Linked DNA regions of Homo sapiens: all the other regions are linked to region 5. Evidence: promoter capture Hi-C in 16 types of primary human blood cells and fetal thymus (Javierre and others, 2016). All regions are on one chromosome and are shown on one strand. The core of a region is centred on a gene start or on the middle of the fragment in contact, and the rest is flanking DNA. Distances in the headings are between cores, read along the strand shown.

What was found. Contacts are between HindIII fragments. The CHiCAGO score rates a contact against its expected background, and 5 or more counts as called.
Region 1: a contact is called between the fragment with the promoter of EMILIN3 here and the fragment with the promoter of PLCG1 in region 5, in 7 of 17 cell types (non-activated CD4 T cells, activated CD4 T cells, naive CD4 T cells and 4 more). The highest score is 5.9, in non-activated CD4 T cells.
Region 2: a contact is called between a fragment that was not itself captured here and the fragment with the promoter of PLCG1 in region 5, in 5 of 17 cell types (activated CD4 T cells, fetal thymus, total CD4 T cells and 2 more). The highest score is 12.2, in activated CD4 T cells.
Region 3: a fragment that was not itself captured here is called in contact with the fragment with the promoter of PLCG1 in region 5 in 8 of 17 cell types (naive CD4 T cells, non-activated CD4 T cells, total CD4 T cells and 5 more); the score reaches 11.4 in naive CD4 T cells.
Region 4: a contact is called between a fragment that was not itself captured here and the fragment with the promoter of PLCG1 in region 5, in 1 of 17 cell types (fetal thymus). The highest score is 5.5, in fetal thymus.
Region 6: a fragment that was not itself captured here is called in contact with the fragment with the promoter of PLCG1 in region 5 in 1 of 17 cell types (fetal thymus); the score reaches 5.2 in fetal thymus.
Region 7: a fragment that was not itself captured here is called in contact with the fragment with the promoter of PLCG1 in region 5 in 12 of 17 cell types (naive CD4 T cells, total CD4 T cells, activated CD4 T cells and 9 more); the score reaches 26.6 in naive CD4 T cells.

The regions. Positions count from the first base shown.
Region 1 is chr20:41,364,580-41,368,139 of GRCh38, reverse strand. EMILIN3 (elastin microfibril interfacer 3) reads left to right here and starts at 1,322. Exons shown (of 4, transcript NM_052846.2): 1 at 1,322-1,672; 2 at 2,983-3,105. The coding sequence starts at 1,506. RefSeq lists an enhancer at 2,084-2,585. The HindIII fragment of the contact is 20,041 bases long and covers 1-3,560 here.
Region 2 is chr20:40,957,226-40,961,202 of GRCh38, reverse strand. No RefSeq gene overlaps it. Among named protein-coding and RNA genes, the nearest start is that of TOP1, 70 kb to the left of the region's middle. RefSeq lists an enhancer at 1-267. The HindIII fragment of the contact is 7,671 bases long and covers 1-3,977 here.
Region 3 is chr20:41,346,934-41,350,825 of GRCh38, reverse strand. LPIN3 (lipin 3) reads right to left here. Exons shown (of 20, transcript NM_022896.3): 3 at 3,179-3,274; 4 at 1,939-2,207; 5 at 1,654-1,734; 6 at 932-1,052; 7 at 429-771. Among named protein-coding and RNA genes, the nearest start is that of LPIN3, 8.1 kb to the right of the region's middle. RefSeq lists an enhancer at 3,268-3,791. The HindIII fragment of the contact is 2,400 bases long and covers 832-3,231 here.
Region 4 is chr20:40,933,456-40,937,443 of GRCh38, reverse strand. No RefSeq gene overlaps it. Among named protein-coding and RNA genes, the nearest start is that of TOP1, 93 kb to the left of the region's middle. The HindIII fragment of the contact is 2,473 bases long and covers 1,362-3,834 here.
Region 5 is chr20:41,135,156-41,138,792 of GRCh38, reverse strand. PLCG1 (phospholipase C gamma 1) reads right to left here and starts at 1,250. Exons shown (of 32, transcript NM_002660.3): 1 at 935-1,250. The coding sequence starts at 1,151. It overlaps LOC124904903 (translation initiation factor IF-2-like), which reads left to right and starts at 1,280. Exons shown (of 2, transcript XM_047440629.1): 1 at 1,280-3,091; 2 at 3,501-3,637. The coding sequence starts at 1,454. The coding sequence ends at 2,035. PLCG1-AS1 (PLCG1 antisense RNA 1) reads left to right here and starts at 793. Exons shown (of 7, transcript NR_109889.1): 1 at 793-1,079; 2 at 2,982-3,091; 3 at 3,501-3,637. RefSeq lists enhancers at 133-212, 361-460, 382-1,166, 1,951-2,735 and silencers at 611-870, 991-1,980. The HindIII fragment of the contact is 8,103 bases long and covers 1-2,292 here.
Region 6 is chr20:40,893,519-40,897,463 of GRCh38, reverse strand. No RefSeq gene overlaps it. Among named protein-coding and RNA genes, the nearest start is that of TOP1, 130 kb to the left of the region's middle. RefSeq lists a silencer at 1-45. The HindIII fragment of the contact is 4,981 bases long and covers 1-3,742 here.
Region 7 is chr20:41,329,344-41,333,293 of GRCh38, reverse strand. It overlaps the pseudogene ADI1P1. Among named protein-coding and RNA genes, the nearest start is that of LPIN3, 9.5 kb to the left of the region's middle. RefSeq lists an enhancer at 3,400-3,449. The HindIII fragment of the contact is 6,350 bases long and covers 1-3,950 here.

The DNA.
Region 1 (3,560 bases), core at 73-2,572, 230 kb before region 5:
TGTGCAAGAATACATTTCTGTGTGTTAAGCCACTGAGTCTGTGGCTGTTACCACAGCCCTGAGAAACTCACACAACCTACACCTGGAAGCTGGATTCCTTCAGCTTCTGTGTTCTGATTCCAAAGCCTGGGGGAAAGCAGGATGGGCCTAGCTGGGGTCAGATGTCCGCCCCACAGAACCCAAAAGCCACTAAAGCTAAGGGCAGGAAATAGATGTGGGTTTCGGAGCTGCCCCTTCCAGTATCCTTGATAACCATCACCCTATCCAAAAGGCATTAATTCATATCTCAAGGTCAATTTGGAGGGAGGTCTCTCCAAGCAAGCCCCAGAGTTCTGTACACCTATCAGCTCCTGGGGCAAAGACACAGACGGCTGTAGCCACCGGTGTGGATGAGACAAGGCCAGGAAAGTACCGCTCTGATGACAGAATCAGAAGGACTCTGTGCAGGTTAGAGAGTTAGCAAGGTGATACTGAATGAGGACGACGATAAAACCCAACTCTTGGGTTCCAAGAGTCAACTTCACAAGCAAAATGTGGACGACGCCTGGCTTCACCGCGGCAGTGCCTTGTGAGAAAGACCTGAGGATTTTCTCTGACCAGCCGGCTTAGAGCTTCAGTTGCACGAAAAGCACAGCACTTTTGGCTGGGCTGGGGCGGTGATAGGCCTTTCGGGCTCGGTGCAACCCATACCTAAGACAGAGAGGCAACACAGGCGCCTCCAGAGAACCAGAGGTGCAACCGGGCCACCAGGCTACGTGGCAGAGGTTGCGGGGTAAGGGGGAGGTGGGATGCCTGGGGAGAGGTCAGCGGAGTTATCAAACTAAGGTTCCCGGGCAATGATGGGGCCAGGAGGCAGAGCGAGCAAACGGGGATGATCTGGGGTCTATTCCAAAGAGGTGGCGGGGGAGGTGGTGCTGCTGTGCCCCCAGTCACGGCCATCTCGGCTCCAGAGCCCTGGAGAGCAGTTCCCGGGTTCACACGGACTCTGAAGACAAGCGTATCCTGAGGGTGGACGACTCCTGGAAAGTCCACGCCCAGGCTGGCCTCAGGGGTCCGCTTCTCTGCGTCTCGCCCCGTGCCCGCAGGCGACAGAGTGGCTGGTGTGCTCGGGGGGCCTCCCAGGGCGCGGCGGCCTGCGCCCCTGCCACCTGGGGCTGCTCCCTTTGGAACCTCCTGTTCGCAGGCGGCTCCTCGGCCGTCCGCTCGGAGCTGGGGCGAGGGGCTGGCGGCGGCGAGCGGCGCGGCCCCAAGTTTATGCTAATCCGCAAAGAGCCCGCCTCCCGCCTCCCCTCCGCGGCCCCAGCCGCTAGCAGCGCCGGCCACTCCGCGGGACGCAGCCGCCGCGAAGCGCCAGGCGGCCGGGCCAGCGAGCTCGGGGGCCGAAGGGGACCCCGGGACCCTCGGGGCGGGACCCGGGCCGACCAGCGGCGGGGGCGGCGCGGCGCTGCAGGCGGACACCCGGCGGGGGGCACCGCGCGGGGCCGGGCAGAGGCGCGGGGGCCGCTATGGGCCGCCGCCGCCTGCTCGTCTGGCTGTGCGCCGTCGCGGCGCTGCTCTCGGGGGCGCAGGCCAGGGGCACCCCGCTCCTGGCGCGGCCTGCGCCGCCCGGTGCCTCCCGCTACAGTCTCTACACGACGGGATGGCGCCCGCGGCTGCGCCCGGGGCCGCACAAGTAAGCGCGGGCGGGCGGCGGGCGGGAAGAGGGAGGGATGGGCCCGCGCGCGTCGCCGCTCCCACCTGCCCGCACCCGCGGGGGGCGTCGAGGCCCCGGGCACCCCGAGGCCGCTGCACAGAGGGGGCGGCGCCCGGGGCCGAGCCCCTGCCCAGGCGAGCGCCCTACGCTCCGGGAGGTTGCGGGGCTGGCGAGGAAAAAGGAACCGAGGGGGCCTGGCGCGGCGGCTTGGGATCCTGGCAGTGCCAGCGGAAACCTTTCCAGCGAAGTAACATTTTCCAGCTGCGCTGTGTGCAGACTCCGGGCGAGCGGACCAGGTGGAGGGAGAGGAGGAAAGGCGGTCCGCGCGCTGAGCACGCGGGGCTCCCCCGCCCCGGGCCTCCCTTCTCTCCCCTGGCCCGGCCAGGTAGGAGATAGAGCTGCGCATCCGGGCGGCCGCTGCCCTCTCGCAGTCAGCCTGGCCCCAGCAACCCCATGGGAGCCCCAGCGTGGCCGGGCTGCAGAGCCAGAGCGGGCTCCTGGCTCCGGGCCTGTGCTGTGGCACAGCCGTCCACAGCGGTCGGCTTATGCCAGGCAGCCACCTCCTCAGCCCTTGTGGCTCATCAAGGAGCCTGCTTTCCCCGCCTCAGCTTCTGGTGTTTCGTGGGCAGTGGCTTGCGAACTGGCCTCAGTTAAGTGGGCTGGAGGCTCTGCCTGGGGTGCTGGCTGAACTTGAATTCTAGCTGAATTTGAGAGCTGTTGTAGGAGGAAGAGTACCGACACTCAGTGGGCCTGGGTACATCACAGCGAGCCTCCTGGAGGAGGTGGTACAAGAACTGCTCTGAGAGTAAGGGAACAGGACCAAAGGCAGGGGCTGCAAAACTACGAGGAGAGGTGGATTTCCCCGGGAGCCAGGCAGGGAGGAAGGACAAGACATGGTGCTCTCAAAGGAGTCACTGAGTGGGGACTCGGAAGCCTTAAATGCCAAGATAAGGAGTTTGGAATCAGCGAAGGATGGGGGGGTGTGGCAGGGCACTTGAGGGAGAATCCGGGCTGGCCTCTTCCCCACGCAGGGAGGGGCAGCCACATCAGGCTCCTGGTTCCAAATAGTGCTTAGCCCAGGGGCCACCCATCACGGAGGCTGGAATCAGAGACCAGCAGCGGGGCTGGACCCCAGACCAAGGGCGTTGGCTCCCAGGGACACAGAGAACAGACAGAAGAGACATGGGAGTTTGGAGTCCTGCTGAGGCCCACAGATGGAGGTGGGAGGGTAGGCGCCTCTGTGGGCCTCGCTCAGCCAGATATTCCAGGGGTGCCATTTTCTCCTGTAGGGCCCTCTGTGCCTATGTGGTGCACAGGAATGTGACCTGCATCCTACAGGAGGGAGCGGAGAGCTACGTAAAGGCTGAATACCGGCAGTGTAGATGGGGGCCCAAGTGCCCCGGGACAGTCACGTAAGTGCACTCCTCACCTACACACTTGGAATCCCCTGGCACAAGCGCCAGTCCTGCCTTCAGCTGAGAGCAGCTGCCAACTCCACAAGGGGCTTCTTGGACTCCAGAGAGCCCACCTGAGCCCCCATACAGGCCAGAGTAGAAGGCGGCCCCAGAAAAGAGGGTGCCAAGGAGGACCCCAGGGATTTGGGCTTGCAGCAGAGCATCACCCGCACAGACAGGGGCAGGCTTGGGTTGGAGCCCAGGAACCACAGAGGGACAAGGGGAAGGTTCTGGGGGCAGAGGCAGCACAAGGCTAGGAGGAAGTGACAGAGGCAGAAGGTGAGGGGAGAGGAGGGAGCAGAGGGCCCCTTAGGCAACGGGTGATGCCACAGGGGGGCCTGGCAGGCCCAGGGAGGACTGTGGTGACCACAAGGAGGCAGGCCATGGGGCAGGGAGAGGAAGCCGGAGCAGCA
Region 2 (3,977 bases), core at 670-3,169, 180 kb after region 5:
CAATGCTGGAAGCCTCATAGCAGGGTCACTTCGTGCTTCTTCCTGCTGGGTGTTTCCATACACAGTGTCACTGATACTGTAGCCATATCTGCCCTTCTGTTTCAGAGAAGAGGAAACCAGGACGAGACGTGACCCATCCAAGGTCCCGCAACAAGAAAGTGTCCACATCCAGTGGAGATTCACACTCAGCTCCGCCTGGCCCCACCCCTCCCCCTTTTCTTCCCCCTCCCCCTTCCCTGGCCCCCGCTCCTCCAGTACTTAATTTTAATGGCCTTTTGATTGCGAGCCTCTTCTTGAAGAGAGACAAATCATTATTGATGAATTTGGACTGCTCCAGTGTAAATGAGTCAACGGGGCCTGGCGTGGGTAGCTGGCCAAGCCATGCAGGCAGCAGGAATCTCAGGACCAGGCCCTGTGGGCCACAGAGAGCCCTGGTGTAGCCTCTTGTAAGCCGTTTATTTCCGTTCCCAATTAAACCAGGCGCTTGGCTGGAAGGGGTGTCCTTATCCTGGAGCTGGGGGGTGGGTGGCTTACAGAAGATCCTGGCCCCTAGGCCTGAGAACAGAGCCCCAGGATGGCCTGGGCTCCCCCTCTCCACCTGGCAGTCCCCTTTGGCCTGGGTAAATCGGAAATGAGGGCGGCCGCAGTGAGTCCCAGCCCTCACCCTCCATGCTCGGCTGTTTTCTTGGCAGCAAGACCTAGGGAGGCTCCCATGGCTGATTTTAGATTTGTTTTCAAAAACTGAAAGGAGAGAAATAATCCTAGCGAGAAAACAAAACAAAACAATAAAAAACAAACAAAACCTCTTCTAAAATGTTTCAGTCCTGAGCCTTGTCCCCACTCTGTGTGCACTTTCTGGTATTTGACCACCTTTGCCACCAGCCCCTGCTGCTGGGACCTTGAGCCAGCCCCAAAGCTCGTGAGTCCCTGTCCTCTGCCGTGGAATGGGGATTACATTATACACATCTCTGGGTTTGGGAGGTGATGGAAGGAGATGGGGGAAAGGGATGCATTTTGTAAATGAGGCCTTCTGATGATAATTTTATCATAGGCAGTAGACAAATACACTCACACGCCCCCAAATCACTAATGGGACCTCCCTCTGAAGGTGCTCCTTGCTTCTTGAGACGGGCATGATTACTCAGTAGATTCTGTGTAATTATTTAATCAAGCTCCAGCGAGTCCTCAAGTCCTCGGTGTGGAGCTGGGCTGCTGACCAGGCCCCAACCTCCCCTCCTCCTGCAGGGAGGCATAATCAGAGATGCTGAGAGGGAGGAGAAGCCCCAAGCACTTCTTTTCTTTGTGCAACAACTGGGTTGTGTGGGAGGGACAGCCGGGAGGGAGGGGGCCAGGTCACCTTGGGGCTCTCTTCAACAGTGGACGGGGCAGGAGGGGTCTTTAGAGACCTGTTTATGCTGTGCCTTTCTCTTTGAGGACACTGAGGATCAGAGAGGAAAAGCCAGCACGTCCCATGATTTCCCAACTGCAGACTTGGCTTCTGCCACTCATTCCCTCCCTCCCTCCCTCCCTTCCTCCCTTCTTTCTTTCCTTCCTTCCTTTCTTCCCTCTTTCCTTCCTTCCTTCCTTCTTTCCTTCCTTCCTTCCTTCCCTCCTCCTTCCTTCCTTCCCTCCTTCTTTCCTTCCTTCCTTCCCTCCTTCTTTCCTTCCTTCCTTCCTCTCTTCCTCCCTCCCTTCCTTCCTTCTCTCCTTCTCCTTCTTGACCCTCCTTTCCCATTGATTCCCTTCCCCTCCCCTTCCCTCCCTTTCCCTTCCCTCTCCTCCTTTCTCTCTTATAATGAAAGTACTGAACAGATGGCTGGGTGCAGTGGCACAGGCCTGTAATCCCAGCACTTTGGGAGGCTGAGGCTGGTGGGTCACCTGAGATCGGGAGTTTGAGACCAGCCTGGCCAACATGGCGAAACCTCATCTCTACTAGAAATACAAAAATTAGCTGGGCGTGGTGGTGGGCACCTGTAGTCTCAGCTACTTGGGAGGCTGAGGCAGGAGAATTCCTTGAACCCGGGAGGTGGAGGTTGTAGTGAACCGAGATGGCGCCACTGCACTCCAGCCTGAGCGACAGAGTGAGACTCCTTCTCAAAGAAAACAAACAAAGAACAAAAAAGTACTGAACAGATGCATGCATTCTCATGGTCAAACATGCAGATCATACAACAAAAGCAAAGGTCTCCCCAGATCCCTCTCTTCCCCCCCACCCAAATTCCCAATTCCCTCCTCAGAGACAACCCCAGCTCCCAGTTTGGAGACTCCCTTCAGACTTTCTGCTATGCATTCATACATTTACCTAAGTTCCTATAGAAGTTCTAGTTAGGTGTTTACTTTGGTTCATGTAAACATTCCTGACAATGCTGTCTAGACCAGTTCTCACTGTGGGGGGTGGGAAAGCGGGATGGGGAGGGAATTTTACTCCCCAGGAGACATTTGACACCATCTGAAGACATTTTTGATCATCATGGCTGGGGAGGGAGGTGCTCCTGGCATCTGGTGTGTAGAGTGCTAAAGGAGTGTTGCTAAACAGCCTGCCTTGCCCCGGACAGCCCCCAACACGAAGAATGATCCGGCCCAAAATGTCAGTAGTGCCAAGGTTGAGGAATCCTGGTCTGGAACGTTCTCAACTTGCTTTTTTCTAATAATAATAATGATTAATAATAATAATATATCTTGGAAATCTTTGCAGGTTAGGCAATATCTTTCTCTCATTCTGATGACTTCTGTGTCTTCTTTTGACTACATCACAGTCCATCCATCTCATCCCCTTTAGATTGATTTCAGGTTGTTTGTGACTTGGCGGTATTAATAGAAACATCCTTGTTATTCCCTGGTTTGGATGCTTGGGAGTGGGATTGCTATGTCAAAGGGGTAGTTATTGGTTGATTGATTTACTAAGTCCTCATATAGTGCTTCTATTTTAAATACAACAGGCACTTATTTATTATTGTTATTATTTTGAGATGGAGTCCTGTTCTGTTGCCCAGGCTGGAGCGCAGTGGCACAATCTTGGCTCACTGTAACCTCTGCCTCCCAGGTTCAAGCGATTATCCTGCCTCAGCCTCCCGAGTAGCTGGGATTATAGGCGCGCGCCAAGACGCCTGGCTAATTTTTTTGTATTTTTGGTAGAGACGGGTTTTCGCCATGTTGGTCAGGCTGGTCTCAAACTCCTGACCTCAGGTGGTCCGCCCGCCTCAGCCTCCCAAAGTGCTGGGATTACAGGCCACAACATCCACTTATTTTTAACTTTGATAGATACACTGCGCTTTTCCACAAAGGCTGTGCCAGCTGACCCTCTGTCCTTTCCTAGCTCAAAGCCAAGGTTTCAAGGAAAATGATACAAACAAAAGTTTTGAGTTATAGTTACTATGTCTTCAAGAGGACTAAAGGAAACTCAACCTTCCTAGGGTGGATGGGGGCCCAGTCTTGCCAGCCCCAATGGCAGCCCTTGCCATAGGCCCTCCACCATGTAGCTGGCAAGGGACAGACTTGTCCATCCCCATCAGCCCTGTGCAGCATGAAGGGGAAGAACTGGGACAGGCTGGGAGCCTCTGTTTTGCAGATAAGGCTCAGCAAGGCTGTGTGATTTGCCCACCAGCTCCGAGAAGTCACATCTTCCCAGAGCCCCTAGTGGGACGCCCATGGGTTGAGCAGGGGGAGAGCAGCGTGCAGAGTGAGACTGGGCTATGGTTATGGACACTGGAACTTCTCATAGTGACATCAGCTCAATACTCTACCAGGTCCCTCATGGCCCTGGGGCCAGGGTTGCCAGGTTTTACATGACATCTATGCAATATTTGGGACATTCTTACCCTAAAAAATTGTTCATTGTTTATCTGAGATTTGAAAGTAACTGAGCAACCGTGTTTACCTGGCGACCCTGCCTGCTGCTCTCTGCACCGTGTCTTCTCCATGGATAAAGGGGCAGGAAGGGGCAAATGGCTGGGACCAGACAATCTCTCCATTTCTCA
Region 3 (3,892 bases), core at 782-3,281, 210 kb before region 5:
TATCCCGGCCGTCTTCCATTTCTTGCTCAAGGCACGCCAGCTGCTTTCAGTTTCTGGACATGAAACTTCTCTCCAGCCTTACATCCCTGGCACATACTGTTTCCTCTGCCTAGAATTCCCTTCCCCTGCTCCTCACTTGGCTGAATCTTCATTATCCATGTCTTAGCTCCAACATCACCTTCTCGGAGGGGCCTTCTCTGACCACCTGGTTTAAACAGCTCCCATTCCAACCAATGACTATGCCTGTGGCACGCCCTTCCACACATGCAGCATCTGTCTCCCACACTGCACTGTGAGCTTCATGAGGCTGGTGCCAAGAACAGCACCTAGCACACAGCAGGTGCTCAAAATGTACTTGAAGTCCCAGCACCCACCCAGGGGACAGAGCGAGGCCAGGGAGGCAGTGGGAGAGACCCAGCGTCACTCACCTTTCCCCCTGGAGACCCTCTCTGGCTGCCCGGTGGGAACTGGAACCTCCAGAGTGGCCCAGCTCCATGACTTGGAGGCAGGAGGGAGGCCCATGTCCCCAGAGCTCTGAGTCTTGCTTTCCTCTGTCTCTGGGGTGTGGAGAGGGGGACCCACTAGAGTGGGATCCTCTGTGTCAGGCTGAAGGTCGGCACCAGCCTCTGTTTGCTGGATTGGGAGTCCCAAAGGGTCCACGCCGCCAGCCACAGAGGTAGAGGGAGTGCTGGGTCCTCCCCGAGGAGGAGAGGTTGCCCCAGCTCTGCCTTCAAGGACCACTGAGGACTCGGGCCGCTCAGCTCTGGCCACCTTTAGTGGAACAAATGGAGGAAGATGTGGGCCAGGGTAAGGCCCATGCCCCACAAAGCTTTTGGGGCAGTGGCCCGAGTTTCAGTCCCTCCAACCCTGACCCATGGGGGCCACAGAGCCCCTGAAAGGCCGGGCCTGGGGTTGATACAGAGGGACTCACCTTAGGCAGCCTCCCCCAGGCCCACTGCATGTGGGACTCGGCTCTTAGGGGACTGGGCTCCGGGGTCCGCACCTCCAGCTCCGAGTCGCTCTTAGGGGATGTTAGCTCACCTGCTGAGAGGCTGCAGGAGACATATTGAGAGGCCTTGAGCCTGCCTACCCATCCCCGCTGCTGCCCACCCCAGCCAGGGAAAAAAATATGTGCAACCTATATTTATGCCTGTGTTGAATCCATAATATATAAGGAATATGTAAAGATCTAAAGAGTATACAAATATATGAATAACTTATACTAATCAACAAGAAGAAGACAATCCAGTAAGAAGAAGGATGGGAGGGAGGAAGGAAGGAAGGAAGGGAAGGAAGGAAAAAAAAAGAAGATGGCAAAGTTGTAGCTGGATTGCCTAATGGGCATAGGGTTTCCATTTGGGGGATGGGATGTTCTGGAACTAGATAGTGGTGATGGTCATTCAACACTGAATGTACTTAATGCCACTGAACTGTATACACTTTGAAATAGTTAAAATGGTAAATTTATGTTATGTATATTTTACCGCAATTTAAAAAAATCAATAAAAGACTTGAACTCTTTACAAAGGAAAAATACGAATGGCTAGTAAACACATTAAATGGGTCCTGTGTCATTAGTCATCAGGAAAAATGCAAATGGAAACCTCAGACCTTGATCTGGAGTCCTGGCCTGCAGCCCACCTGGACTCTTACCTGGCCTGGGGGGGCCACTCGCCATCCGAGTAGGGGTAGATGTCTTTGGGCTGCAGTGAAGACTTCTCTTCCAACTGGACACTGCTAAGGGGCCACAAGGAAATGGTCACTGATCAGGCAGGATGCCCCAGGCAGGCATGAGAGCCTGGACATCAGGGGCTTGGTAAGGTGAAGCAACTACTGCTCAGAGAGGTCAAGGCCCTTGCCCAAAGTCACACAGCATGAGCAGAGGAAACAGCACTTGAACCCCCAAACTGGGGTTCAAGTCCCTTGGTCCTTACACACCCTGGGGGCTCTGGCCTCAGCTTTTCCGGCAGGGATAGCTCACTCTCAGCGCCTGCCTCCAGTTCCTCTGGACTAGAATCAGTTGCCACTGCATCCTCTTTCTGCTTGGGTTTCCTCCTGCGACGCCTCTTCCTCCGCCCAGTGGAGGCCGTGCCTGCCATGACGAGGCCCTCAGGCTCACTGGCAGTGCCCAGCTGGGAGTCCGAGGGGAAGCCAGACAGACCCCCCCAAGGGATGGGTGAGGTGCACAGGCCGGGAGGCACATGTTCCTGTGGAACAGACCAAGAACTGAGGTCGGGGGCTGACCCTAGTGGGGCTGCGCTCACCACACAGTCATCTTGAGCCTTGCCTGGGTCCCAGCCCTGGAGTGAGCTCATTTAGGGTCAGGAAAACAGGTGTGGAGGCACCAGCCTGGCCCTGTAGCCACTGCTGGCCTCAGAGGTCCCCAACAGAGCCACCTGCCACCCTGGCAGGCCAGGCAGAGATCTTGGCATCGGCCTCTGATCTCCTCTTCTACCCAAGTCTATGACAGCAGACATCTACTTCTGCTTTAAGATTCAGCCATATGTCTCCTCCTCCAGGAAGGAGCCTTGACTATCCCTCTCCCAATCCCAACATCCCTCACTGCAATGACCAAACGGCTCATCATCCATTGTTTATGTGTCTAGCTCCCAGAACAGCCTGGAACTTTCTTTGAAGGCAGGGGTCACCCGTCATCTGAGTCTGTTGCACAGTGTCTGGCCTACAGTAGGGACTCAAAGTTTTTCAAGTTCTGTTTCAACTCCTCTGCTGGCTTCTGCTGGGCCCTGCCTCCCCTGTGCGAACACCCACCACTTACACACTTCTAGGTTCCAGCCACACGGAGCTGGCACCAGACCCAGGACAAGCCAGATGTTATACTTCCCAGCCCCTTTCTTCAGCTCCCGCCTCCTCTTCAAGCTGCCTGGGGAAGGCCTCCTTTTCATCCCACAGGGGCCCAGCTCAGGGGTCCAGTCTTCTGAGAAACCTTCCCCAACTTCCCAGTAAATAGAGTCAGTTGGTACCCTGGCCTCTTCCTCTGGGCCCCCACAGCATATCACGTGTGCCAGAGGCCAGCCCCAACTGATACCCCTGCCTCAGACCTCTGCTGGTGGGGTGCTCCCGGGGAAGGGCGAGGATGGTGACAAATCCCAAGGCTCTGCCCAGAAGAGGCACAGGAAAGGGGTGGGCGGGGCAGGTGCTGTTAGGAGGGCAGACTCACATCATCGCTCTCCAGCTCCTGAACAAAGAAGGCCTCCCCGCTGTCCCCAAGCTTCATGTGCAAGTCCACAGGCTCCCCATTGAGCTCAATGTCTACCTGCAAATGGAAAGCGGTGGCAGGGACATGGGCCTTCACGCCCATGCTTCCGACCACAGGCCTCCTGGCTGGTCCTCCAGTGGCTCCTTGCCGCCCCAAACACCATACTTGCTGGGGTTCCCTCCCTCCGGACCTCAAGTGCCTGGCTGCTCCCCACGAAGGGGGGCTCTGCTGCATCTCCCCTTCCTCAGAGAGGCCTTCACTGAGCTCCCTACCCATCTCTCCCTCACTCACACTGCCCCACTGTCTGAGCCTCATTGTACTTGTCACTGTCTCGGTCTTCTTGTGTATTGCCTGGTTTCCAAGTTCTTCCCTCTGTCTCTCACATCCATAAGAATAGGGACGTGGTCTCTCTTGTGATCGCTGTGTCCCCAGCCCCCAGGTTATTGGCTGCATAAACAATGGTGGGAATTTTAGTGTACTGGCCCTTTGTGGAGTGTTTTCTATAGATTATCTCATTTAATCTCTGCAACCCCTTGCAGTAGCTCCTATCATTACCTCCACTTTACAGATGAGGAAACTGAGGCTTTGGGGGTTTGAGTAATTGGTTAGGAGGCAGCCTCACAGCAAGTGAGCTTATGAAGCCAAAAAGGCTGAGTCTACAACCCAAGCTACTAG
Region 4 (3,988 bases), core at 1,349-3,848, 200 kb after region 5:
ATGCACAACTGGAAAAGTTTTCACATGCCTATGCCCCTGGGAGAGCATCACCACACAGAAGATAATAAATAAACATATCCATCCCTTCCCAATGTTTCCTTATGATCCTTTGATATTCTCCCTCCTGCCCCTCCCACCTCTCCCGTGTATTTCATCCTTAGTGAACCACCACTCTGCTTTCTGTCACTACAGATTAGTTTGCTTTTTCTAGAATTTTATATAAATGAAATTATACAGTATGCATTTTTGGCCTGACTTTTAAACTCATTATAATTACTTTGAGACTCATCTATATTGTTACATGTGTCAGTAGTTCATTCCTTTTAATTGCTGGGTAGTATCCCACTGTATGGGTATACCGCTTCTTGTTGATTCTTTCACCTGTTGATGGCATTTGTATTTTTTCCAGCTTTTGGCTATTACAACCAATGTTGCTGTGGAAATATGTGTACAAGTCTTTGTGGGGGACAGAATACTTCATTTTATCTCATTGTGATTTTAATTTGCATTTCCCTAAGGAGTGATGATGTCGAACCTTGTTTTCATGTGGTTATTTGCCATCCCAATATCTTCTTTGGGGAAGTGTCTATTCACAATTTTTGCCTATTTTAAAAAATATTGGGCTGTTTTGCTTATTATTGAGTTTTGATAGTTTTGTATATTTGGAATATAAATTCTTTATCATATATGTCATTTACAAACACTTTTTCCCATCCTATGGCTTTCCTTTTCATTCTCTTAACAGTGTCTTCTTTGAAAGAATAATAGTTCTTAATTTTAATGAGGTCCAACTTATCACTTGTTTTTCTTATTCGATGTCATATACAAGAAATCTTTGCCTCACTCAAACTTACAAGGATTTTCTCCTATATTTCTTCTGAAGAGTTATAGTTTTAGGCTTTACATTAGGTCTATGCTCTTTTATTTTTGGTTAACAGCTTCATTGAGATAAAATTTATGTACCATACATTTATGTACCATACAGTTCACCCATTTAAAGCATACCATTTAGTGGTTTTTGGTATATTCATGCAGTTGTACAATCATCACTCTCTAATTCCAGAACATTCTCATCGCCCCCGATGAAATGCCATCACAAGCAATAGACACTGGGGACCACTCGAGTAGAGAGGAGATGTGGCCTGAAAAACTACCTATTGGTTCTCTACCTCTCACTTTCTGGGTGATGGGATCATCCATATCCCAAACCTCAGCATCATGCAATATACCCATGTAACAAACCTGAACATGTACCAAATTTGAATCCAAAATAAAAGCTGAAAAAACTGTATATACAGATATATTTTATTAAAGTAATTTGGCTAGAACTGGGAGGATGGAAACTGATGTTTATTAAAGCTTTACTATGAGATAATAAAAAATACAAAGAAACTCCCTTCCCATTAGCAAGCACTTCCCATTCCCCTCTTCTTCCAACCCCTGGAAGACATTAATCTACTTTGTATCTCTATAGATTTAACCATTCTTGATATTTCATAGAAATGGAGTCATACAACATGTCATCCTTTGTGACTGGCTTCTTTCACTTAGCATGATGTTTTAAAGTTTCACCCACGTGGTAGCATGTGTCAATACTTCATTATTTTTTACTGCTGAATATTAAATTCAGGAATATTGTATGGATAAATCACATTTTGTTTATCCATTCATCAATTGGTTGGCATTTTGGTTGTTTCAATTTTTTTTGGCTATTAGGAATAATTGCTGCTACAGACATTTGCATATAAGTTTTGTGAGAACTTTTTTTTTTCCTTTTGTGTATATACCAAGGAATAGAATTGCTGGGTCACATGGTAACTCAATGTTTAACTTTTTGAGGAACTGCCAAACTGCTTTCCAAAGCAGCTTCACCAGTAATGTATGAGGGTCCCAATTTCTGCACATCCTGACCAACACTTGTTATTGTTCATCTTTTCGATGATAGCTATCCTGATGAGTGTGAAATGGTATCTTGTTGTGGTTTTGATTTACATTTCCCTAATGACTAATGATGTTGAGCATGCTTTCATGGGCTTCTTGGGTATTTGTATATCTTCTTTGAAGAATATCTATTCAAATCTTTTGCCTATTTTTAAATTGGGTTGTTTGTCTTTCTATTATTGAGTTGTAAGAATTATTGATATATTCTGGACATTAGAACCTTATGAGATGCATGATTTGCAAATATTTTCTTTCATTCTGTAGAGAAGTCTTTTTGCTTTCACTCTAATTCTTCTCATTTTCTTGATAGTGTTTTCTGAAGTAGAAATTTAAACAATATCAATGAAGTCAACTTTATGCTCAACTTTGAGTTATTTATTTATTTATATATTTGGGGGATGGAATCTTGCTCTGTCACCCAGTCTGGAGAGCAGTGGCGTGATCTTGGCTCACTGCAACCTCCACCTCCAGGGTTCAAGTGATTCTCGTGTCTCAGCGTCTCCAGTAGTTGGGATTATAGGCGTGTGCCATCATGCCTGGCGAAATTTTGTATTTTTTTTTTTTTTTTTTTTTTTTAGTAGAGATGGGATTTCATCACATTGGTCAGGCTGGCGTTGAACTCCTGACCTCAGGTGATCCGCCTACCTCGGCCTCCCAAAGTGCTGGGATTACAGGTGTGGGCCACCAAGCCTGGGCTTGAATTAATTTTTAATTATGGTACAAACTATGGATTGATTTTTCTCTCTTTTCTGCCTTCTTTCTCCATCTAATTGACTTGGCACGTTTTTCAAAAGTCAACTGACATGTGTATGTAGGCCTATTTTTGGAAAAAGTCCTGTTACCTTTACCTTCAAAGTACCTTTCAGATTTTTTCCCTTTTCTCTCTCTCTCTTTTATAGAGACAGGGTCTTGCTATGTTGGCCAGGTTGGTCTTGAAATCCTGGCCTCAATAAATCCTCCCATCTTGGCCTCCCAAAATGTTGGGATTACAGGTGTGAGCCACCACACCCTGCCTTTGTCCCCTTTTCTCTATCTCTACAGTACCCTGCCAATCCTGGGCCAACACCTGCCACTTTGGTGGCTGCAGCAGCCTCCTCCCTGGATCCCTTTCCCCACTCTTGTCTTACCCCTAATCCATTGTTCACTCAGCAGTGGAAGGAATTTTTATCAGGTGCTGGTATGCTCAACACCCTTCATTAGCTTCCCACTGCCCTTAGATAAAATGCAAACTTTATGTCATGCTATATGTCTGCATGGTCCTTTACTCAACTTCCTTTCTGATCTCATCATCTGCTACCACATTCTCCCTTGCTCCCTGGCCTCCTTGCTCCCTGTCCTTTTTTGAATTTTTGGAATGCATCCTGCTCCTTCTTACCTCAGGGCCTTTGCACATGCTATTCCCTCTGCCTGTGAAGCTCTTCTCCCCACTTTTGCATTCTTGTGTATCTATGAGTTACTCATATTTCTGTTTCAATATTTCTTTTTCAGCGAAACTGACTCATCTCTTATCCTCCATCTAAATTCAGTCTTTCTCTATTGCCTACCTTCCTGTCTCATTATCTCTAATCATGCTCCACATTGTTAAGCTACTGCTGTGTAACAACAGCAAAAATAGCACAGCATCTCAGTGACATTCAATAGTAAGTATTTATTTCATTCATGGGTTGGTGGCTCAGCTCTCATCCACTTCTTGTTCATCTCCTGGGATCAGCAGGCTAGGCAGGGTATGTTCTCATGGCTATGGCTAAAGTGTAAGAGGGTAAGCCTCCTTGTACAAGCTCATGTAAGATTCTTGCTTATGTCGTGACTACTCACATCTCATGGGCCAAAACAATGCCCAAATTTGCCAAAGTCCATGGATGGGAGGGATTGCAATGTTATATTGAAAAAGCTTGATACATAGAGGGGTGGAGAATTGGAGCCAGTCATTCAACCTACCCCATATCCTTTGCACAGTCACATTAAATAATGAATAACATATTTCTTATTTGATTATTTAATTGTTTATCTCCCTGCTCCATGAGAGCAGGGCATTGCCTACCCTGTT
Region 5 (3,637 bases), core at 1-2,500:
CCCACTAGAGACCAGCGCAAAAGCAGCCAAGCTCAGGCCTGGGAAGGCGAAAAGGCAGGAAACTAAGAGAAGCCGCTCCCGCTCCCTGAAGCCACCGGACAGAGGACAAAGGGCTAGACTCACAAACTAGCTGCACTCCTGAGAAGAATACCTGACTCCAAGGCGCTGGGGCAGGCCTTTATGGGGCCCATCTCCTGGGAACGTGCTTCCCAGGGCAAGGGGAGTCCCTGCCCTGGCATTGAGTGTCTGCCCACCCACATAGGCCTCCAAAACCCAGCTTTGGGACAAAAGTAGCAGAAAAAAAAAAAAAAAAATTCCAGCCACTGGCTTCTCTCAGGCTTCTCCAAACCAAACAAGACCACCTTCCTCCCTCTCCCCCAGAGGGAGATGAGTAGGCCCAGCTCTGCTCCAAGACCAGCCCTACCCAACATCTGCCTAAGTTCTACTTAGGGAACCCAAAGATTCCTTTGCAAATAAGAGCCCAGCCTGGGGGCCCGGAGAGTTTCACAGACTGCTCTTTCTGGATAAAGAGTGGGCGGGGACCGTCTGGTCAGGCCCCAGGTTCCCGTGCAGGGTGGGGGCCACTGCCTTAGCTCCCCTCGCCGACGCCGCCACCACTCCCAGGGTCTGGGGGGCCCGATGCCTGCACCGCAGGTCTCCAGCCCGCGAGGATTTTTAGGCCTCAGGGCAAAGCGCCTGGAACACTCCCCCCAGCTGGGGGAGGGGGGGTGTCCTGTCAGGTGACCGAGGACCCGGATGCCCCCCGCCCCCAGTGACCACCCGAGACGAAGCGGGGGCGGGGCCCGGAGGGAGTCTGGGAGGGCCCGAAAGTTTGCCCAAGTCGCTGGGGCGGCCGGCCGGGGTGCAAGCAGTCGGGCCGGGCTCCCACGACCCCCGCGCGGGGCGGGCCCAGGCAGGAAGTGGGCGCACTTACTGGCCCCCTCGATCTTGTCGGCGCCCCGGCTCCACGTGATCTGGCGCGTCTCCAGCTTGACCTGGAAGGTCTTCCGCTCGGGTCGCTGCGACTTCTTGGAGTAGAACAAAGTCATGACGGTGCCCACCTCGAGGCTGCGGCAGAGGTGCAGCACCTCGGCGTCCGAGGGCGCGCCGGGCCCGCAGCCGTTGGCGCAAGGGGACGCGGCGCCCGCCATGGCTCCGACGCTGGGGGCGGCGGCGGCACAGGCCAGGACCGCCCGGGAGCAAGCGCAACGGCGGCGGCTGAGGTTGGGGCTGAGGCTGAGGCGGCAGACGAGCGGGACCCGGCGGCGGCTCCTGCAGGCGGACACGGGGCGGGGCCTCAGCGCGGCGGGGCGGGGCTGCCCTGAGGCCCCACCCCGCTTCGGCGCCGGGAACAAAGGCGCCCGCGCACCCGTGGGGAGGACCCCCGCCCGTCGGCCCGCCGCGCCTGCGCCCCGCGACCCCCAGACAGGCCGCAGGCGGGGACGGAGGCGCGATGGCGGCGGGAGCGCGCGCCGTTCCCGGTCGACCCACCCAGCCCTCAGTCCCGCAGAGCTTTCTCACGCGGCCCCGGACACAGCCCGGCGGCCACGAGCGGCCCTGTCACGCACGGCAGCCCCGCCCACAGGCCGCAGGCCCGGCGGCCGGCGCGTCAGTCAGGCGTACTCGCACGGGCGGCCGCTACCCCGCGGTCCCGCACAGACGCAGCCCCCGCGTCCCGAACACCGCCCATGCAGCGACCGGGACGGGACGTGAGGGGATGGCGCGTCCTCCGGGAATGCCCGGCCAAACTCAGTTACCTGGGCGGGCTTCCCGGACAAGGGAGCCAGGACGGGCCGCCTCACACCGGCGGCGGCGGGTCCTCCGCGCGCCCTCTCCCGGGAGGGGCGGGGGCGGGGCTGCCTGCGGATTGGTCGCGGGCACTGATGGACAGCCGACATGTCCCGCCCCCCCGGCAGCGCGGGGCTGGTCCGCAGGCAGTTCTGGCGACGGCCAGACCCACGTCTGTCTGTTCCGCCCCTGCTGCCAGGGTGGCTTTCAGTGGTCCTCTCTTTCGGAGAGTTCCCCCCAAGCGTGAGCACCCCTTACAGGGGCGTTAGGTCCGCGGCCGCGCTGTCCAGTGGTCTGACCTGCAGCTCCCAGGGCCTTTGTGTCTGTCCCTCGCATGGGCCTCTGCACGCTCCGTCCCCACGCGACAGGACTCGAGTCCGATTCGGGGCTCCGACTCAGACCCTACCCCGCAGCGCCCTCCTGCAAATGCTCTCCTGAACTTTGGTTTTCCCCGCCTTGCTTTCTTCCTCCTCCTGTAGCCGCTGCCTCTCGATCTCAGAAGCTTCTCTTCCTCTGCACTCAGTGCTAGGCCAGATCCCAAGGCGACCTGACCTTTCCCCTGGCTTTGCCCAACAACACAGGCACCGGTGACTCCAAACCTGCATCTCCCCTACGTTCCAGGCCCCAGCATCCCACTGCATGTTCCACATCCCCCCCCCTTAGACAGCTCGCCTTCCCTCCCCAAACGATTCCTTCCACAGTCTTCACTTTCTCAGAACGCGGCGCTAAACTTCTCTAAGTTGGAAGGTCAAAAACCTTGCAGCTAACTTTGATTCCTCCCTTTGCCTCACCTCCAATCCATCAAGACCTTGTCACTCAGCCCACAAGCTGAAGGCCCCATCTCCTGTCACCCAGACTACTCACCTTGTTTGGTTTTGCCTGGATCTATCAGTTTGGTTTTGCCTGGATTTATCATGCTTTAAATCTTTAAAATGAAATTAAATCATGATCCCCTACATCCAGGCTAAAACCCTCCGTGAATTCCCATTGCACCTAAAATCCACACTCCCTGCTTGGCCTAGCAGGTTCTATATGACCTGCCCATCTCACCAGTTTCATCTCTCACAAGTGATCCTTCACTCTCCATTCTCCAGCCACAAGGCCTTTTTCTGGTTATGGAATATAATTCATACTCTTTGTCTTTCTGAAGCCATTCTTGAAACTCACCCCTGCAATCTATCTACCCTTGTCAGCACCGCCAAAATTGAGGACACCCACGGTCGCGGTGGAGCCTGTCTGACATGTTGAGCCAGGCAGTGGGTCGGCTGCCAGGCACAGCAGGACAACTTACTGCATTTCAGAGGTGAGAAGCCCAACAGAGCTTCCAGCTGATGCCAGAGAAAGAGCCAGGCTTCCTGGGAATTGTGAGATAGTAGGACTAGACTAGAGTTTGTAAGAGCGTGTGCTCAGGCAACCCACTCAGCTGGATAGTGACCTGGGGCTGCTGCTTCTGACTTTGTCTTGCTGTAGTGGAAACTTGTGTGTTAACGTTGATTTCCTCAAGTGCGTCCCCTAAGAAGCTCAGAATTCAGCATGACATTGAGACCCTTTGTCCTAGCCAGCCTCTGTGGAGTAAGGAGCGGTGGGGTAGCTGAGATGGACTGCCACCTAGTGGCAGGTCTTTACGTGGGCGGGACGGAGCTAGCGTAGACCCTGTGCTGAAGGTGTGCACCTGTGGTCACACCTGATCCTCATAATTATCTTCTAATCAGGAATGATGGTCCACAATTTACTGATGAGGAAACAGAGATTCAGAGAAGTTCTACAATTTGCCCCAAAGCCACATAACATGACTAGGTGGGAACTAGAACCCAAGTCGGCCTGACTCCATGAGTTTTCTGCCTCACAG
Region 6 (3,945 bases), core at 3-2,502, 240 kb after region 5:
CTCTGTGACTGCTTCTCTCTGCCCCTCCAGAACTGAGGTTGAATCGCATGCTCTGGGCAGCATCTCTCTTAACACAGGCAGATTAATTGAAAGCAGATGTCAAGCAGTGGGAGTTAAATACAGACATCTCACCAAATGTCAGCCTTTCCCCTGGGTCACGATGGAGTCCTTGTTTCTCATCCTCACCAGGGAATTGGGAAAAAGCCTCTTAGACACGCTGGTGGCATGGTTGACCCTGAGAGTCATTTTGCTCTTCTGAAAAGTGCTGGGCAAATTATGACTCTGAAATTGGAACCTAAGCGATGAATTTATTTGTATCAGATGCAGACAAACAAAAGGCTCTTTCAGAACAGCTGACTCTTACATGGGTGCCCAGGTGGTTGGGGAAGGACCACAGAACCCTCAGATCATAAGAACTGGAACGGATAGTCTTATCTTCTCACTTCAAAGTGGGTAAAACTGAGGCCCAGAAGATGGAAGGGATGCGTCTAGCGTCACTCTGCCGCTTAGTGTTAGAGCTGGGGATGGGACTCAAAGCCAGAAACTATTTTTTTTCTTTTATTTTTCTCTCTGTCACAGACAGGGCCTCACTAGCTCTCCTAGGCTGGACTTGAACACCTGGGCTCAAGTGATCCCGCCACCTTAGCATCCCAAGTAGTTGGGATTACAGGCACACACCATAGTGTGCAGGGTTTTAGAAATTATTTTCTAAAGTGTAAATCTGACGTCTCCCTCCATGCCACCCTGTTGCCTGGAGAATAAACCCGAACTTCTTGGCAGGGCTGGAGGTCCTTTATCTCCTCCCAATTATCTCAGCCTCATCTCCCCTAGGCTAAGGGACTTCCTTGGTTTCCTAAACATATCTTTCTGATATTTTTGCCCATGATATTTCCTCTATCTCATCACCTTAGTAGTAAACTATTCAACCTTCACAGCCCAACTCAGATGTCTGACTTTTCAGAAATCTTCTCAACTCCTTGGTAGAGTTACTTTGCCCCACTTCTGGGATCCTACAGAACAGAACATGTGTCATTGGAATTACTTGTAGATTTTCTGTCCTACCCTCCCTGCCCCCAAACTACTGCTTTATTTGACCGTCGCTTCCCTGGAGCTTGGACCCTGGAGCACACAGTAAGCACTTAAATATTTGTGACATTGGCATTGCCAAAGCCAAGGGACCTCTTTCTGTGCTTTTTAAATTAGGTTTTTCATAGCATCTGATGCCACCAAACTCTCTCTCCTTGAAATGCTCCCCTCTCTTAGCACCTATGATTCCTGGCTTTCTGGGCTTCCCTCCCACTTCTCTGACTGTTCTGCTGAGGTCTCCCTTTTGGACATCTGTTATAGGCTGTGGTTCTTCAGGGATGTGTCCTGGTTCTCTGCAGTCCTCTACTGGAAAGCCTTCTCTGTCTGGATTAGGTGTCACGGGACTCAGGACCTTAGCCTTTGCTGTTCTGTCTCTGGGACACTTTTCATTTCTTTTTCTTTTTGAGACAGGGTCTTCTCTGTTGCCCAGTCTGGAGCGCAGGCTTACTGCAGCCTTGACTTCCTGGACTCAAGTGATCCTCCCACCTCAGCGTCCCGAGTAGCTGGGACTACAGGTACACACCACCATGCCCAGCTAATTTGAAAGATTTTTTGTAGAGATGGGGGTCCCACTTTGTTGCCCAGGCTAGTCTCAAACTCCTGGCATCAAGTAATCCTTCTGCTGTGGCCTCCCAAAGTGCTGGGATTACAGGCATGAGCCACTGTGCCTGGCCTTTCCCGCTTCATTTCTAGCATGACCATCTTCTTTTCAACCTTCAGGTTTCAGCCCAAAGGTTGCCCTCTCAGAGAGTCCTTCCCCAACCACCTAAGTCACCAGCCTGGGGCTAAAATTGAGCAGCAGGAAGGACCTAGGCAGGGCAGAGCACAGGTATCTGGAGGTGCTGGCATCTTTAGTGCAAGTGCTAACATCTCGAAAATCCACAGCTGGGGGTTCCACTTCTGAATCCAGAGACAGGCAGGCCCCAGAGTTTTTGGGTTATTAACTCCCCTCAGTAGACTTCCAGTGAGTGTGATAAAACACTCAGCAGAATGCAGCAAGAGCTCATAAAAGCAGGATTTAGTGCCATTTTATAGATGTCAGGCCTGACGTCTATACTCAAGCTGGTATATATTTAAAATTCATGCCTGACTTACTGCCTTTGGGGAAAAAGCCTGAGGCCTGCAGGGAGAAGATGACAGGCTCCATGCTCACCTGCAAGCTCTAGCACACCTGGAGCGGACACCAGGGTGGGGGGCCTCCCAGCAGGAATCATGCTGAGCCAAGCTGAGCCTCACTCCACCTCCTTTCAGAAAGCAGCCCTCCTCATGGTCTGTGAGTACGAGCTTTGGAGCCAGACAGGCCTGTGTTTGAGTCCTGGCTGGGTGACTAGCTAGGTGACCTTGTTTGCCCAGGATGTGGGCTTTCAGTGCTAAAACCAGGCAAATGCTGGCATGCCAGGATGAGTTGATCGTCCTAAGCCCTGGCTCTACTCTTTCTTTGCTTTGTAAACTTGGATGGATCCTTTCCCCCTCTGAACCTCATTTCCCACAGCTGTCAAAAAGGAACAGTTAACCTATTTTGTTAGTCGGGTTAATCAGTGCAGCTGCTGTGACAAACAGTCCCCAAATCCCTGTGGTTTAACACAATATGTTATTTCTTGCTTCTGTGGCAGTATAATACGGGTTAGGCAACTTTATAGCAGTGACTCAGGGAACCAGGCCCTTTAATTCTGTGGCTCTGTCTTTCCATAGGGCCCCCTCAGGTTTCCCCACTGTATCCTGTGAAATAAGCCAGCCAGGTTTTAAGGCAGGGATCAGCAAACTACACTCATGAGCCAAATTGAATCTCCAGTTTATTTTTATAAATAAAGGTTTATTGGTACACAGTCACACCCACCTGTTTACATATTATCTATGGCTGCTTTCATATGACAGTGGTAGAGTTGACTAGTTGTGACAGAGGTCATACGGACTGCAAAGACTGAAATATTGCCCAACTAGTCCTTTACAGAAAATGTTTCCTGACCTCTAAGTCTGTGGTTAGGCCTGAGAGTGGTCAGGGAAGTGGACATCAATTCCATTGCAGTTCACAGGCTGCAACTCAGTCTAATGATCCCACACTAGTTGCAAGAGAGGGTGGGAAATGTAGAGGAGCACATGAATTTTGCACTACAGTCCCTGCCATACCTGCCTCTCAGGGTCACTATGCAATTATAATAAAATAATGTCTGGAAGCTGTTTTTTAGAGGATCTGGTACATAGTAACTCTTTCATAATGAAACCCATGGTTCTCCAAGCCTCAGGGATATGCTGAGTGGCTGGGATTTGCGATTGTGTGGGAGGACCCCTCTCCACTCTTGGAAGAAGGCCCTGGAGAAGACAGGGAGCTGGATTGGTCAAGATTCTTGGTAACCAGGACATGAACTGAGTGCCTGGTTCCATTCCATCTGGATTTGGGGCTCTGGCTATCTCTCTGTGGCAGCTGGGTCAGGGAACAGGAAGAACTCAGGAATGCTTATTTGAGCCCTAAACCTAACACATCCCAAAATGATTTTTTTTTCTATTGAACAGGATAGATGCTGTGTGTTTACCAGACTCAACCCTTGGGATATTGCCCAGGATCTAAGTGACCTGGCTGGACCTTTGCAATCTGATGCCTGCTCACCCTACCCCACCCCTGACCTTGTCCCTGACTAGCATTTAAAAACAGCAAGCTTGAAAAATTAAAAAATACTATTAATCATGGTATATGCAAGATATATAATATTGAATATATATGTTATTACTTATATTTTTACTTTTGAAAGTAACTATAATACAACTTAAAGTATCAATTGAGGGTTAGTCAGTACTTAAGCCTGATAGTTTAAAGTTAATTCACTAATGTGAGAGTGATTACTCACTAATAATAAAGAAGAA
Region 7 (3,950 bases), core at 576-3,075, 190 kb before region 5:
ATCCTAAAATTAATAATTTCAGGATTAAAATGTACACAGGCACCATGATAATAACATTTAAGGATCGACTTTCCTCTGTGCAGTGAGAAACAGACCCCCAAGACCAGTGTGAAAGTAATGAAAAATTAATTTTAACATGAAAAATTTTCATCCAGTTTTAGAAAAATACTTAGAAAACAACCTGACCTTCTAAAACATGAAATTTATTTGGGGTTTTTCTATGATTATAACGAACTAGGCATAATTGTGTCTTAGAATTGAGTAGAGTCTTAGAATTGAGTAGAAAAATAACGTACTAATTCTCTTGATAAATTTTAAAATACTAATTCTGTTAAAATCTTGATTGTGAAAGAACCTAGACAACTCGCACTGAAAAAAATACCAACACAGATAATATACACATTAATCACATACATATACAGTCACACAAAGAATCTAAACTGGTGATTTTAACAAGCTAGGCAAAATACCATATATACTTGAATATAAGATAATGCCAAGCCATGAGCATAAAATTGAGGCAGTCACTTTATTTTGTTTTGTTTTGTTTTGTTTGAGATGGAGTCTTGCTCTGTAGCCCAGGCTAGATAGAGTGCAGTAGAGCAATCTCGGCTCACCGCAAGCTCCACCTCCCAGGTTCACTCCATTCTCCTGCCCCAGCCTCCCGAGTAGCTGGGACTACAGGCGCCCACCACCAAGCCCGGCTAATTTTTTGTATTTTTAGTAGAGACGGAGTTTCACCGTGTTAGCCAGGATGGTCTCAATCTCCTGACTTCGTGATCTGCCCGCCTCGACCTCCCAAAGTGCTGGGACTACAGGCGTGAGCCACCGCGCCCAGCAATGACTTTATTTTGAACAAGAAAGTGGCATAAGCAACTCAGAATGTGTCGCCTAACATAAGAGCTCTTCCCTCTATGTGTATAATTCCCCACCTCAGTGTATAATTTTGGGAGAAAAAAAGTGTCTTCTATCTGGTTATCTACCATTGCACCTTGTTACAAGGCAGGCACAATATCATGTCCAGATAGAACATCTAAGGAGATACATTTTGGGAGATGAAACTCTCATTTGGACTAAAGATGAGTGCATGTACTAACACAGGGCTACTGAACCACTAGTCTTGATTGCATTAGACAAAACGAAGGTGACTTGTCTTCATTTCCACAGTTGCTTCCATGTAAAAATCAGTTTTATTGCTCCTTTCATTAAAAAATATTCTGAGCCAGGCACGGTGGCTCATGCCTGTAATCCCAAAACTTTGAGAGGCTGAGTCAGGCAGATCACTTGAGGCCAGGTGTTTGAGACCAGCCTGGCCAACATGTTGAAACCCTGTTTCTATTAGCCGGGTGTGATGATGTGCACCTGTATACAAGCTACTCAGGAGGCTGAGGCATGAGAACCACTTGAGCCTGGGAGGTGGAGATTGCAGCGAGCTGGAATCATGCCACTGCACTCCAGCCTGGGCAGCAGAGTGAGACTCTGTCTCAAAAAATAAAAATAAGATAAAAAACATTCTGATCAAATAATCTTGCAAAGGAAAGACAAGTTTACCGTATAAAAGCAAAGAGAAAAATGATTTTGTGCTCAGTTACGTTTAGGACCTTCACAAAGTACATGTTCTCAGGGAGCCCTGCTATGCTGTCTGTGCCAGAAATTTCATGTATTGTCCCTGGACATTGAAATGGTCAGCTGGCCCATTGTATGCTGTCCACACTGGGTCTCCCTGAATGGCCATATGGCCTTCACGTACTTCTTTTCATCCAGAGTGAGGTGGTGACGAATTCCTGTGGGGAGAGTTATGTCTCCTTTCTCCATGAAGATGTAGATTCACTTGTCTTCTTTATCTGTCATATCAAAAGTATCCACTGCCACCCGGGATGTAACAGATCCGATCATCCAAGTGTAAATGCTCCCCATAAAACACCTTAATCTTTTCTTCATAATTTGGTAATTTATCTTTACATATGGTTATTATGTCTATCCAGGAGTAGCTTCTCTCTCTTTGAGTCTTTTCTAATTCTGGATCATTCTCTCATTTGTCAGTGTCCAGCTTTAGTAGTGCACCCTGAGCCAGCATGGCTGTTTCTGGCCCACTGGGTGGCCAGGGGCTCGGGGTGGTGGGGCTGCCTCCAGCAGTCTGGGAACTCATCCATGTACTAGGCCTGCACCATGGCTGCAGATGCTAACAGGCAGAGTGGGGCTAGAGAGGGGAGGCTGCATGGAAGGGCTGCCACTGGGAGTGAGGGGCTGTTGTGATTAGAACTCAAGGCTCTCAGGAGCTGGACAAAAGGTAGAAACTGTTGTTATAGATGAGGAAAAGGAAACCAATTATTGAGTACACTTAAAAGTATACTTGGTCAGATGCAGTGGTTCATGTCTTTAATCCCAACACTTTGGGAGGCTGAGATGGGAGGATCGCTTGAGCCCAGGATTTCAAGGTTGCAGAGCTGTGATTACACCACTGCACACCAGCCTGAGTGACAGCGTAAGACTCTCTCTTTAAAAAAAAAAAAAAAAAAAAAAAGCACACTGGCTGTTTCCTCTGCCCAGAAGTTTCTTTCCCTAGATGCCTACCTGGCTGGCTCCCTCACTAACCTCAAGACCACACCAATGTCCATGAAGTCTACCCTGACCATGCCCAGACACCTCTCTGTGCTCTAATCTTTTCCAGTAGCCCTAACAACTTCCTTGAGTGCTAATTCACTTCTTGAGGATGTCTGGTATGTGTGTGTCTCCCTCCAAAAGAATGCAGGCCCCGTGAGGACAAGACATCTGATCTGTCTTCACTGACAGTTCCTAAGAACAGTCTGGGGCCGGGCACGGTGGCTCACGCCTGTAATCCCAACAGTTTGGGAGGCCAACACGGGTGGATCACTTGAGGCTAGGAGTTCAAGACCAGCCAGGCCAAGATGGTGAAACCCTGTCTGTACCAAAAATATAAAAATTAGCCAAGTGTGGTGGTGCATGCCTCTAATCCCAGCTCATGGGGAGGCTGAGGCAGGAGAATTGCTTGAACTGGAGGTGGAGGTTGCAGTGTGCCGAGATGGTGCTACTGCACTCCAGTGAATGAGACTCCGTCTCAAAGAAACAAACAAAAAGCATCTGGCACATAGTAGGTCTCTGATAAAGATTAGTGAGTGAATGTCCACATCTTTAAAGGTTTTGCCTGTACCTTGAAGTCTCTGTTCCTTGGGGCTGCCTCTTTGCCCAGTACTCTTGACCCTGTCCCAGGTGATATGACCTGTTGCCCAGTGTCTGCCTGATCAGTAGGGTCTTCCTAGAGTGCCAGCGTTTTGACCTCCATGTGTCCCCACTAAATTGCCAGCATGTGTGAAATACTAAATTCCAGCTGTTTTTGTTTTTGCAGGGCAAGAGGGTTAAAGAAGGAGTAGGAAGAGGGGGAGCTGATGAGAGGAGCAATGGTCAGAGTGGAGGGGGTGGAGAGAGAATACAGTCACAGATTTCCCCACCCCATCAACTTTCCAAGCAGCTCAGAGCGGCAGCAGAGCCGCGAGTGAGGGCTGCGCACCACATATCCGGAGCTGTGTGCCACGTGGCAGAAGCTGTCCCGTTGAGTCATGGGATGTACTGCTGCACTGCTCTAGAGTTTGGTGTGTAGAGTATTTTTGGTTTTTACAGTCCAGCTCTCTGTGTAATGACTTCCTTCCCGTGGCCTTGTTCATCGAGGTGTCCCTGAACGACTAGCTGAGTCACAACATTCCTTGCAGCTTAAAACACTGACCCAAGGCAGTTTCTCCATGTAGTTAGGGACTTAGAAGGCTGCCAGGGAGTGCCTAGGGAAGACAGTCTGTAGTGCTCCTGTCTCTAACAGGCACCCCTCCCCGAAAACATTTAAAAAGCAAGTGAAAATAGAGAACAAATTCCATCTGTTAAGTCACTAGGAAATGGCCTCAGCCCTGCCACAACCTGAAGAATAATTTGTCAGTGAC